Regions from separate parts of the Homo sapiens genome. Here regions 2 and 3 are each linked to region 1. The links are contacts of gene promoters, found by promoter capture Hi-C in blood cells and fetal thymus (Javierre and others, 2016). All regions are on one chromosome and are shown on one strand. Each heading gives the region's core, a stretch centred on a gene start or on the middle of the fragment in contact. The rest is flanking DNA. Distances are from core to core; before and after follow the strand shown. Region 1 holds the start of KLHL20 (kelch like family member 20). Region 2 has its middle 80 kb from the start of FASLG. Region 3 has its middle 64 kb from the start of FASLG.

What was found. The method cuts DNA at HindIII sites, captures the fragments that hold promoters and counts their contacts. A CHiCAGO score of 5 or more calls a contact.
Region 2: a fragment that was not itself captured here is called in contact with the fragment with the promoter of KLHL20 in region 1 in 2 of 17 cell types (naive CD4 T cells and naive B cells); the score reaches 5.9 in naive CD4 T cells.
Region 3: a contact is called between a fragment that was not itself captured here and the fragment with the promoter of KLHL20 in region 1, in 1 of 17 cell types (naive CD8 T cells). The highest score is 5.3, in naive CD8 T cells.

The regions. Positions count from the first base shown.
Region 1 is chr1:173,712,578-173,716,384 of GRCh38, forward strand. It overlaps KLHL20 (kelch like family member 20), which reads left to right and starts at 2,404. Exons shown (of 12, transcript NM_014458.4): 1 at 2,404-2,501; 2 at 3,426-3,489. The coding sequence starts at 3,467. It also overlaps a transcript of ANKRD45 not described here. RefSeq lists enhancers at 2,308-2,497, 2,578-2,947. The HindIII fragment of the contact is 9,904 bases long and covers 1-3,807 here.
Region 2 is chr1:172,737,258-172,741,437 of GRCh38, forward strand. No RefSeq gene overlaps it. Among named protein-coding and RNA genes, the nearest start is that of FASLG, 80 kb to the left of the region's middle. The HindIII fragment of the contact is 5,998 bases long and covers 1-4,180 here.
Region 3 is chr1:172,721,307-172,725,396 of GRCh38, forward strand. No RefSeq gene overlaps it. Among named protein-coding and RNA genes, the nearest start is that of FASLG, 64 kb to the left of the region's middle. The HindIII fragment of the contact is 6,552 bases long and covers 1-4,090 here.

The DNA of each region.
Region 1 (3,807 bases), core at 1,154-3,653:
TGAAGCTGTGCATAGCATACAACCCAGCAATTTTGCTTCTGCGTGCACACCCCAAAGAAACACCTACAGGTGTACACAAGGAGGTATATGCAAGAATTTACATTGTAGCACTGTTTGTAATGGAGAAAACTGGAAATAGTCAAAATATCCATCTGCAGAAAAAAATGTTTTAAAAAATCTATGGTATATTCATATAATAGAATACTATAAAGCAGTGAAAATAAATAAATTAGTGCAGTAGTTCTCAAATTTTACCATGCACTATAATCACCTGGAGAACTTGTTAGAACACAGATTACTGGGGCCCACCTTCAGTTTTTGATTCAATAGGTCTGTAATGGGGCTCAAGGGTTAGCATTTTCCAAGTGATGTTGATGCTGCTGGTCCAGGACAACACTTTGAGAATCACTGAATTGGACCTTCATTGATCAACATGGACAAATCTTACAAACAGAATGTTGAGTGGAAAATGGAAGTTGCAAAAGAATACATATGCTTTGATACCATTTATGAAAAGTTTTAAAATATGGAAAAGAAATCATTTTACTGCATATGTATATATATCACATATACACATGCAGTAAAAATTTTCAATAAGATCACAAAGCTAGTCAGTTACAGGTCTAGGATTTGTACCTATGTGTATCCGTGAAATCGCCTTTGCAAACTGAAACCCCCTTTGCAAAAATTCTATCAGTGAGAAAATTATAGCAGTGGAGGAGATCTGATCTAGCCAAACCCCATCTTGCCTTTAGCTTTCAGTCTGTCCTTAATTATTCCTGGGCTTAAGCCAAGATAACTTTGGGAGACATTTAGTTTAATAGTTTAAATAATTACAGTCCTTCCCCAAAACTCAATTGCCTTTGTAAAGCTAATGAGAGACCACCAGACAACGGGGATAGATGAGCCTGAATTCTGTTAAGTGTAGACATAAGTGATTGCCAGCCATTATTCCAGAGGTCACAAGATATGCAACTTCCCCAATTACTCCTACAGATAACATCACTATTGTAGAATCTAGGATTGGCCTTTTTGGGTATATTTTTAAGTTTTTTGCATGTTTGACTACTGATGGCTCCACCTGGACCCACCAACTGTTCCTGTGGCTCCACCCAGAAACAACTCAGTAGGCAGGAGGACCATCTCCCATACCCCTATGACTGCACCAGTCAGCAGCAAGCACCCATTGCCTAGCCACCCCTACCCCTTTCCCCAGACTACCTTTGAAAAGAAACCTAGCCCCCAAATGCTCCAGGAGGCCGATTTGAGTAATAATATAACTGATTTGAGTAATAATAAAACTTCTTCCATTTTTCCACTCGATGTTGTGTAAAACTCTTTCTCCATTGCAATCCCTATACCTTGATAAATCATCTGTATCTGGGCAGCAGGCAAGAAGAATCCACTGGGCCACTATATCTGGATCTAAAGGCCATGTATTTTCCACTACAAGCTAATTAACAAGAGGTATCCTTTCCCCTCAGAAACAACTGGACACACCTGTGTAGATTCTACATAAAGAACAGCTAAAGAAAATCTGGTTAATACTTAGCCTAGTATACTTACCAGGAAATCAGCAACAGTCTTTCTCTGATATTCCTGAAATTGTAATCCCCACCTTACACTTGTATCACTTGTTTTCTAAATATTAATATACGGTAAAAATCAGGTGGCTGTGTGCTATGGGAAAATCTGGAGGAAAAGATAATTTTAAAAATATACTTTTTTGGCTCTGCTTGCTACTGAAAAAAAATTTTTTTAAGAAAATATACTCTTCCCTCCTTAACATTAAAGTGAATCCACAGAAGATGTGTTTGGTGAAGTGTCTGGTGGTGAATACTAAGTAGAAAGGGCAGACTAACACAGCCTTAGAGCCTGGATAAAATCCTGGTGTCCTGAAAGTTTGACCGTGGGAAATCTGGAGGATAAGGTCTATCTCTGGTCTGTCTATCTAACTTCTGCACCTTGCACATAGTAGAGGCCTGACAGATACATGCCAACCCATGTGTGCATGCAATAATTCAATCCACAATTAGGAACATTGTGCCAAAAGGAGACCCACCAACTAAAAAGAAATACAAATTCTTAGCTTTCTGTGACTACCCTTTACTGCCTTTGCTGGCGAAAACAAAGAAGAAAAGAGGAGGCTTCAGTATTCAAATACTGCCAGTTCCGCAGTGAATTCTAAAAATGGTTACTCTTGGGATACAAGGAACCCCCACGAGGATAAACAACCTCTGAGGTTACCTGAATGCCCCAGCAAAGGGCACGACTACTTCCGGAGCCGCACCGGAACCCCTTGGCGGATTATGTGGGTTCCTGCGGGAACGATTTAAGAATAGGACTACTTCCTGCTTCTGGATATGGGCCGGTGAAGGGAAAGGAAATAGCTCTACGAGCGGCATCCTGCCTGCGTTAGCGGCGGTGGAGGAGGAGGCAGAGAGGAGTGGAGGGCGGAGTAGACGGAGGAGGCTGCTGCAGAGAAGAAAGTGTCAGAGCCGGTAAGTGAGCCAGTCACCTTAGAGCAGGGGACAGCGGACAGCGCCCCAGGGCTCGCTTCGCAGATATGTGGTCCCAAGTTGCTGAGCTGCCCCATGGGGTCAGGTCGGTCGCCTGTCAGTCGGCGCCGAGAAGAGACTGTTGGGGCGCTGGGGCCGGGCCTCGCGGAGCGCCAGAGTGCGCTCTCGCTGGCTGACAGCCTATCTCGGGAGCCAGAGGAGGCCCCGGGCTTTGTCCTGCCTGGTGGTGCTGGGGTTTCGCATCCTGGACAGCTTCCCCAGACAGTGTTTGGAATTCAGGGAAGGAAGAAAGTACGTGCGCCCCCATTTAACCCTCGGGACCTGGCGAAATCCTGCTACGTGGGTAGTGAACATTGTATCGGGGACTGAAGGAAATGCTTGTAAAGAGTGTTAGTCTGGAGCCATACTTTCCCTGCCCTGTTCAAGCTCCCTGGACTGTCGGAAGCGGAGTTGTTTGTAAAGGCAAATGCAGACGCCTCCTCCTCCTGTCACTTCGGGACAAGTTAACAATCTTCAGATTCGTTATTAAAGCCTCGTGTACCCTATGTGATCTATCAGGTTAGTACTGCTGTGGGTATCTGGTGCTTGTTCTGTAAATATACTTGATGTCGAGATCACAGTTAAATATCTCCAAGCACTTTTTGAAGAGAAACAAGACTGACCTAACAGTCGGGACTATTTAGCATACTTTCCCTCACCTTTACTTTAATCGTTTTAGCATGCAGAGTAAGGATGGTAATCTTAAATGTACTAGATTAAGTTATTGTGCATCTGCAGAAGGCCTGTGGTATAATAGGATATGAAACTCTTGATAACTGACGAAATGAGTGAAATGATTATATAAAGATTGTTACTGTAAAGATCAGAAATAGCTTTTATTAAGTTCCTGCTTTTCTGTTGTCTTAGGTTCGGCTTTAGAGTGTGGTGAAGGGTACTTTTCATGGTGCATGGAAGGAAAGCCAATGCGCAGGTAGGCATTTAGGAAGAAAACCTTTGGTTTCACTGATTAAAATTCAGCATGTAATAATTTAAATTTTTAAAAAAGAGTTTCAATCTTACTAAATTCTGCTTGGAACTAATGAGTCTTGTTCTACAATAAATCAAAAGTAATATTAAGAATTAATAGCTTTTTAATAGAATAAAATACAGAAGTTGTTTCTGAAAAGTGCTGTGGATTGTATGTAGTGCTAAACACTTAAATTTTCCTTTTTTCATGTTTTTTACAGTAAATAATCATTAAGTTCATTATGATACTATATGGATTTATTATAATCTTCAGTTCCCTATA
Region 2 (4,180 bases), core at 896-3,395, 980 kb before region 1:
TTTAATTGATCTATATAATAATATTTATAGTAAGCTGCTTATAGACTTTAATTGTATCCCCCAATTTTTGATATGTTCTTTTCATATTTAAGTAGGTCAAAATATTTTCTGAATTCTCTTGAGACTTTTTGATCAATGGGTTATTTAGAAGGGTGTTGTTTAATTTTTTCTTTCTTTCTTTTTTTTTTTTTTTTGACGGAGGCTCACCCTGTCTCCCAGGCTGGAGTGCAGTGGTGTGATCTTGGCTCACTGCAGCCTCCACCTCCCAGGTCCAAGGTATTCTCCTGTCTTAGTTTCTCAAGTAACTGGGATTACAGGTACGTGTCACCAAGCCCAGCTAATATTTGTATTTGTAGTAGAGACTGGGTTTTGACATGTTGGCCAGGCTGGTCTTGAACTCCTGACTTCAGTTGATCTGCCCACCTCGGTTTCCCAAAGTGCTGGGAGTACAGGCATGAGCCACCGCGCCTGGCCTTAATTTTCAATTCTACAGAGCTTTTAGGTGATCTTCTTTGTTTCCCCACTCTGACAATTTCTATCTTTTAATTGGCATGTTGAGACCATTTATATTCAATGAAATTATCGATATGGCTACATTTAGGTTTACTTTTTTATTATTTTATAATTTCTTCCCTCTGGTTTTTATTTCTCTATTTACTATTCTTTGCCATGCTTTATATTATAGGCATACCATGCCTTCAGCAAGTCATAATCTTTTTGCTGGTGGAATATTACATTGAATCTGTAGATCACTTTGGGTAGTATGAACATTTTGATATTGATTCTATAATACATAAACACAAGATATCTTTCCATTTATTTGTGGTTTCTTTTTCTTCCACTCCTTTCATTAATGTTTTAAAGTTTTCAGTATACAGATCTTTCATCTCCCTGGTTAAATTTATTCCTAAGTATTTTCTTCTTTTTGATGCTATAGTAAATTGAATTGTTTTCTTAATTTCTTTTTTGAATAGTTAATTGTTAATGTATAAAAATGCAACTTATTTTTGTATGTCGATTTTCTGTTTTGTAACTTTAGTGAATTCACTTGTTAGTTCTAACAGTTTTTTTGTGTTTGGAGTCTTTAAAGTTTTCTATATATGGCCACGTCATCTGCAAAGAGAGACAATTTTACTTCTTCTTTTCTGATTTAGATGGCTTTTATTTCTTTTTCTTTCATAATTTCTCTGCCTAGGACTTCCAGTACAATGTTGAATATAAGTGGTGGGAGTTGGTATCCTTATCTTGTTCCTGATCCTAGAGGAAAGGCTTCCAACTTTTCACTATTGAATAGAATGTTAGCTGTAGGCTTGTGATATATGACCTTATCGTGTGGAAGTACATTATTGCTAAACGCAATTTGTTGGGAGTTTTTGTCATAGAAGCATACTGATTTTTTTTTCAAATGCTTTTTCTGCATCTATTGAGATGATCATACAATTGTAATCCTTCATTCTGTTAATGTGGTGCATCACATTTAGTGATTTACATTTGTTGAACCATCCTTGCATCATAGGGATAAATCTCATTTGATTATAGTGTAGGATTCTTTTAATGTGCTGTTTAATTCAATTTGTAGCTGTTTTGTCAGAGGATTTTTGCATTTACGTTCATCAGGAATATTGACCTGTAATCTTTTCTTGTAGTGTCTTTGTCTGACTTTAGCATCAGGATAGTACTAGCCTCATAAAAATCCCTTTGTAAGTTTTCCCTCCTCTTCGATTTTTTTGGGAGAGTGAGAATGATTGGTATTCATTCCTCTTTCAATGCTTAATAGAATTCACCAGTGAGGCCATCTATTATTGGGCTTTAATTTGATGGGAGATTTTTGATTCCTGATTTAATCTTATTACTCATTATTGGTATGTTCAGATTTTCTATTTCTTTTTGTTTCAGACTTGATAAGTTTTATGTATATATATATATATATATATATATATATATATATATATATATATATACACATACATATTTAGGATTTATCCATTTCTTATAGACTGTTCAGTTTTTTGGTGTATAATTGTTTCTTGTAGTCTCTTACAATCCTTTGTATTTCTGTGGTATTTGTCATAACGTCTCTTCTTTCATTACTGATTTTATTTGAGTTTTCTTTCTTTTTTTCTTAGTGTAGCTGAATTTTAAAAATCTTCTCAAAAAAACCTTTTGGTTTCATTGATCTTTTATATTGCTTTCTAGTCTCTGTTTCACTTATTTCTGCTTGGATCTTTCTTCTATCAACTTTGGGCTTAGTTTGTTCTTCTCTTTCTAGTTCCTTGAAGTGTAACATTAAGTTGTTTACTTGAGTTCTTTCTTTTTAATGTAGGCATTAACTACCGTGAACTTCCCTCTTATAACTGCTTTTGCTACATCCCTTAAGTTTTAGTATGTTTGTTTCCATTTTTGTTTGTCTCAAGATATTTTAAAATTTCCCCTTTGATTTCTTTTCTTTACCCATTAACTGTTCAGGAACACATTATTTAACTTCCACATATTTTTGAATTTTCCTGTTATTAATTTCTATTTTCATACCATTGTGATCAGAGAAGATACTTGGTATGATTACAATTTTCTAACATATTTAAATACTTCTTTTGTGGCCTAACATATGATCTATCCCAGAGAATGTTTCATGTGCACTCAAGACAAATGTGTACATGCTTCTGTTGGAGAGAGTGTTTTGTATACATCTGTTAGGTCCATTTGGTCTAAAGTGTAGTTTAAGTCCAATATTTCCTCATTGATTGTATGAATGATCTATTAATTGTTGAAAGTGAGGTATTGAAGTCCTCCACTATTATTGTTTTACTGTCTATTCCTCCCTTCAGATCTATTAGTATGTGTTTTATGTATTTAGGCACTCTGATGTCGCCTGCATATATATTTATAATTGTTATATCTTCTTAATATATTGATTCCTTTGTCATTAAAAATTGCCTTCTTTGTTTCTTTTTACAGTTTTGACTTAAAGTCTATTTTGACGTAAGTATAGCTACATTTGCTATCTTTTCCTTTCCATTTTCATGGAATGTCTTTTTCTATCCCTTCACTTTCAGTCTATACATGTCCTAGAAGCTGAAGTAAGTATCTTATAAAGAGCATATAGTTAGGGTTTAAAAAAATCCATTCAGGGCTAGGTGTGGTGGCTCATCCCTGTAATCTCAGCACTTTGAGAAGCTGAGACAGGCAGATCACTTGAGGTCAGGAGTTTGAGACCAGCCTGGCCAACATGGGGAAATGTGTCTCTACTAAAAATACAAAATATTAGCCAGGTGTGGTAGTGTGCACCTGTAGTCCCAGCTACTTGGGAGGCTGAGGCAGGAGAATCACTTGAACCTGGGAGGGAGAGGTTGCAGTGAGCTGAGACTGTGCCACTGCCCTCCTGCCTGGGTGACAGAGCGAGACTCCATTTCAAAAACAAACAAACAGACAAACAAAACCACCCCATTCAACCACTCTATTTATTTTGCTTAGAGAATTTAATCTATTTACTTTCAAGGTAATTATCAGTAGGTAAGAACTTCCTATTGCCATTTTGTTAGATTTCTCTTTCTTTCTTTCTTTCTTTTTTTTTTTGCTTATTTTGAGTCTTCTTTTGTGATTTGATGATTTGTTGTAGTGGTATGCTTTGATTTTTTTCTTTGTCTGTTATATATCTACTATAGGTTTTTGTTTTGTGGTCACCAAGATGTGTATATATAACGTCTTATAGGTATAACAGTACGTTTTAAGCTGATAACCCCTTAAATTCCATTACATAGAAAAACTACATATTTCCTGCTCCCTACACATTATGTTTTTCATTTCATAATTTACATATTTTAAGCCATTATTTCTTCAAATTTTTTTTCTGTGCCAATCTCTCTCTCATCTTTTTCTGGGATTTCAATGATATGAATATTAGACTTTTGAATATTTTCCTCTAGGTCTCTGGAGCTCTGTTTTTTAAAATAATTTCCCTCTGAATTCTTCAGATTGAATAATTTTTATTGATCTATACTTGCTTGCTGACTCCTCTATTATCTCCCTTGAGTCCATCCAGTAAATTTTATATTTCAGATATTATATTTTTTAGTTCTAAAATCACCATTTGATTCTGTATTTGTAGCTCCTGCTTCTCTGCTGAGCACTTCTATTTTTTTATCCATTTCAAAAGTGGTTCCTTCTAGAAGCACAATTATAG
Region 3 (4,090 bases), core at 563-3,062, 990 kb before region 1:
GTCCAGCCCTGTTTAACTGCCACTGTTTGTTAGTGATGGAGTAACATATTTTTCTGTTCTTGCACAAAAACCCTGGATTTTGACCAAGGAGCCAATAGTAATTAGCTTTGCAACCTTGGGTAAGTGATCTAATTTCTCTAGCTTAGGGTTTTTAGGCCATGCAATCAAGAAAGCAATATTATCTACTTTATCTATTTAACTTCGGTGTGAAAGAGATTAACTTTGAAGCACCATGTAATAATTTATTATCTTTATTATTATAAAAATTAATACTAGTAATAGTTTTAGTAATAGTAGTAATACTTTTAGGTGATTGTAGAATAATTAGGCAGTATAGAGAAACCCCTGGAATTGGAATGTGGGGTCACGAAAAGTTGCCTTTTAAAAAACAAAATAATGAAAATCAATCAATTATTAGTACATTTTGTTTGCCAAGCTATTCCCGGAACCAAGCCAGGTCCGACTGCGTTTTCTCCAGTCCCAATAATGAGAAGCAGACAAACTAGGAAAGAAGGGAATTTATCACTGTAACCAGATACACAGAGAAGGCCGGAGGTAATTCCACCAACTCAAAGTGTTACAATTTTCTTAGCGCTTATATAGGTTGGGGCTATGTGCCTATGTGCAGTATAGCATTCGCCTAAGTCTATTGGTAACTGATTCTGTTTCAACTAGAAGGTCAGAGGCAAAAATTGCTTGCTAAGTCCAATTAAAAGGGCCCCAGTACCTTCAAGGCCTGTCTACTGCGGTACCAGAGTGATTATTTCTATCTCATCTCCTTTACAGCTTGGTCCGGAGAGCTGCCTTAGACTCTCCGATGAATCTATTCAAACAGCTGCCTCTGTTACCTTGACTTGTCTCAGATTTTGTCAATGCAAGATGGGTCCTGGCAGTAGGAATGTAAGACTGTCTCTATTATTTTGGTTTGCTCCAGGTTAGGGAGAAGCCCATGCAAGGTTCCTACTGACCATATGTTTCATTTCTAGTTTTGATGTCTGGGCATTGATTTCCCTAGGTTTGACTATTTGCTCAATGGTAAGACAGTGCTATGGAAATTTGTCTGTGTAACTGGAGTGCTATGTAGGCCTGTCTGTGTGACTGTCATGCAGGCCTGTCTGTGTGATTGTCAGGGAGAATTGGCCTGCCACAAAGCCATCTGTAAAATATCCTACTCTAAGGAATAATTTCTAACTATGTTGCTGATGGGAATTTAAGAGTTATTCACATACAAATAAGAATAGTTACATGTAACTAACTTTTACTGACTAAAATGTGTATTTTACAGGCAGGGCACAGTGGCACACACCTGTAATCCTAGCACTTTGGAAGGCCAAGGCAGGCAGATTGCTTGAGCCCAGGAGTTTGAGATCAGTCTAGGCAATATGGCAAAGCACTGTCTCTATAAAAAATACAAAAATTATCCAGGCATGGTGGTGCATTCCTGTAGTCCCAGCTCTTCAGGAGGCTGAGGCAGGAGGATCACTTGAGCCTGGAAGGTTGAGGCTGCAGCGAGCAGAGATCGTGCCACTGCACTCTAGCCTGGGCAACACAGCAAGACCCTGTCTCATACACAAAATATGTATTTTAGTGTCAGACAACAATAATATTTTGATAGTAAGCATTTTTCTCTTTAGCTATTACTATTCCATGTTGCAGACATCAGTTTTGTGTTTCGCATGTTAAAGTTTGAAGTGGCCTTAAAGGACATCTAGTTTATCCCAGTCCTTGAATGTAAACAGATTTTAAAAACGAAGAAGCGACAATCCAGGTGGGCTGGAACTTCTCCACATGAGGTGCAAATTATTAGCAGGGTAGAGCGTAAATCTCAGATCTGACTTCCCATCGCATGTTCTTTCAGATATTGTGGCTTGATTGGCCTTATTCCAGACCCTTGGAAGTCCAGGTGTCAAGAGTAGGGAAGGCCTTTTTCAGTAAGAACTTTGCAGTCTAGTGGAAAAAAACAGGTAAGGACTGAACTCTGACATTTTTACTTTCTCAGATTTCTTTTTAAGGGCCCACAGGGAGTCAAATCTACAAGACATAAAATTATGTTAAACAAGTTTTTTTGACCCAGTATATTGTGGCTTACTTTTGCAACCAGACTCTGGTATGGCATCATGTAACAGAAAACAGACCCCCTTGTCTTAACTGAAGCATTCCTTTCTACTGACTCCAAGTTTTTAGACAAAGCTCAACTCTTTCAACCAATTGCCAACTAAATAATCCCTAAACTCACCTGTGTCTTGTAAGCTCTCACTGCCAGATGTCCTGCCTTTTTGAATAGACTCAATGTACAACTCCCATGTATTCGTTTATGTTTTGACATGCAATTTCTGTCTCCCTCCCAAACGTTAACCCAACTGCCTTGGGCACACTTTCTCGGGACCTCTTGAGACAGTTTCCCCAGGCCATAGTCACTCATATTGGCTCAGAATAAACCTCTTTAAATATTCTGGCAGAGGTTGATTTTTTTGTTGTTACCAGTAACTGGCACCTATACTAAAAGAATGTAATTAGGGATACAGTGAATATATAAGCAACACACATGTTTTAGGAAAACAGTTGAAGAGATACTTTACTCTTCCTGAAAAGGATTAAGGAAGTCTTATAGAAAGTGTTTTTTTATATATAGCAGTATTCATTTTCAGGACTCTGAAATAACAGGGAAATCTCCCAGGAGCTTTGGTATGGTGACCCATAAATAGTGACCTGAAAGCATGAGTATGAGATGCTTTTAGCAATTTCAGTCCAATATGCATAGCACAGTCTCATTTAAGAACAATATATGTGTATGTCATGGACATAGAGAATGGAAAAATAGACATTGGAGATAACAAAATGGGAGAGTGGGAGGGACATGGTAAGAGTTGAAAAATTACCCATTGGGTACAATGTTCACTATTCAGGTCATGGGTACACTAAAAGAACAGACATCACCACTAAGCAATATATACATGTAAGAAATCTGTGCTTGTACCCCCTAAATGTCTAAAAATTTTAAAAATTAAAAAATAAAAAGAATATTTGTGTATTTGTGTGTGTATAATCACAGAAAGAAGTCTCTAAAGTTATATAACAAAATGACTGTAGTTTTCTGGGAGTGGGAGGGGTGGGGTTAAGATGAATAGGGGTGGGGTAGGCTCAAAGCATTCTGGGAATGAAAGTGAAACTTCTTTTAGTATTTATGTCCTTTTTATGTGATGAAATTATGTGAGGTTTTTACTTTACTGTGCATATTTCAATTAAGAAAAAGATGTGCAAGTCTCTTTCATCCTTGTTTTCTTCCATGGGTTTCAAATCAGAATCCTTTGTACTCTTGATGTAATGGCAAATATTTTGGGGAAACAATTTATTTTTTAATTCTCTCTTTATTAGAGCTCCTCCTCTCAAAGATTCTGGCATAACATGTGGAGCCCTGTCACCGGATAAGAAGGCGCACTATTCTATCTCTCCAATTCTACCCTTGGACCAAAATCAGGCACATGGACTCTTTCTGCCTTTGAATGACTTCCTTCCCTTGTATTTGAATAACTTTCTGCCTTTGAATAATTTCTTTCCCTTGTATTTGAGGCTACTTGATAGATTCTCTAGATGAATTCAGATAGGACTTACTTTCAGAATGAATACAACTCAGGCTATTAATCTGTGACCTCAGAATACAGAAATTATTATCCCCATCATGTGGATGAGGCAGCTCAGAGAAATTGAAAAGCTCACCGCAGTCACCTGCCAAATAAATGGCAAAGCAAAGCTATCTGAAGCGAGATCTACCTGACCCCCTAAGCCCATGCTCTCCCCTAGCACCATCTGTGTCATGTCTAATGTACAGTTGTCTCATGCTCTAAGATTGTAGGGGTGCTGTGGTCACCTAGCAGCAAACCTTGCTGGCAAACAAGCACAGCTTATAAGCAGAGAACTTCCTCTTTTTGAAGCCACCTCAAACTGCCTCTGGGAAGGAATTCCCATAGCTACTTGGAGGAGCCTAGGTCCTCAGGGCCTGCATGAAAACTGGAGTGGACATAGGACACAAGTTGTAAGCAGAGAAGACCTCACTTCAGATAGCTTTACTTTGCCATTTATTTGGTAGGTG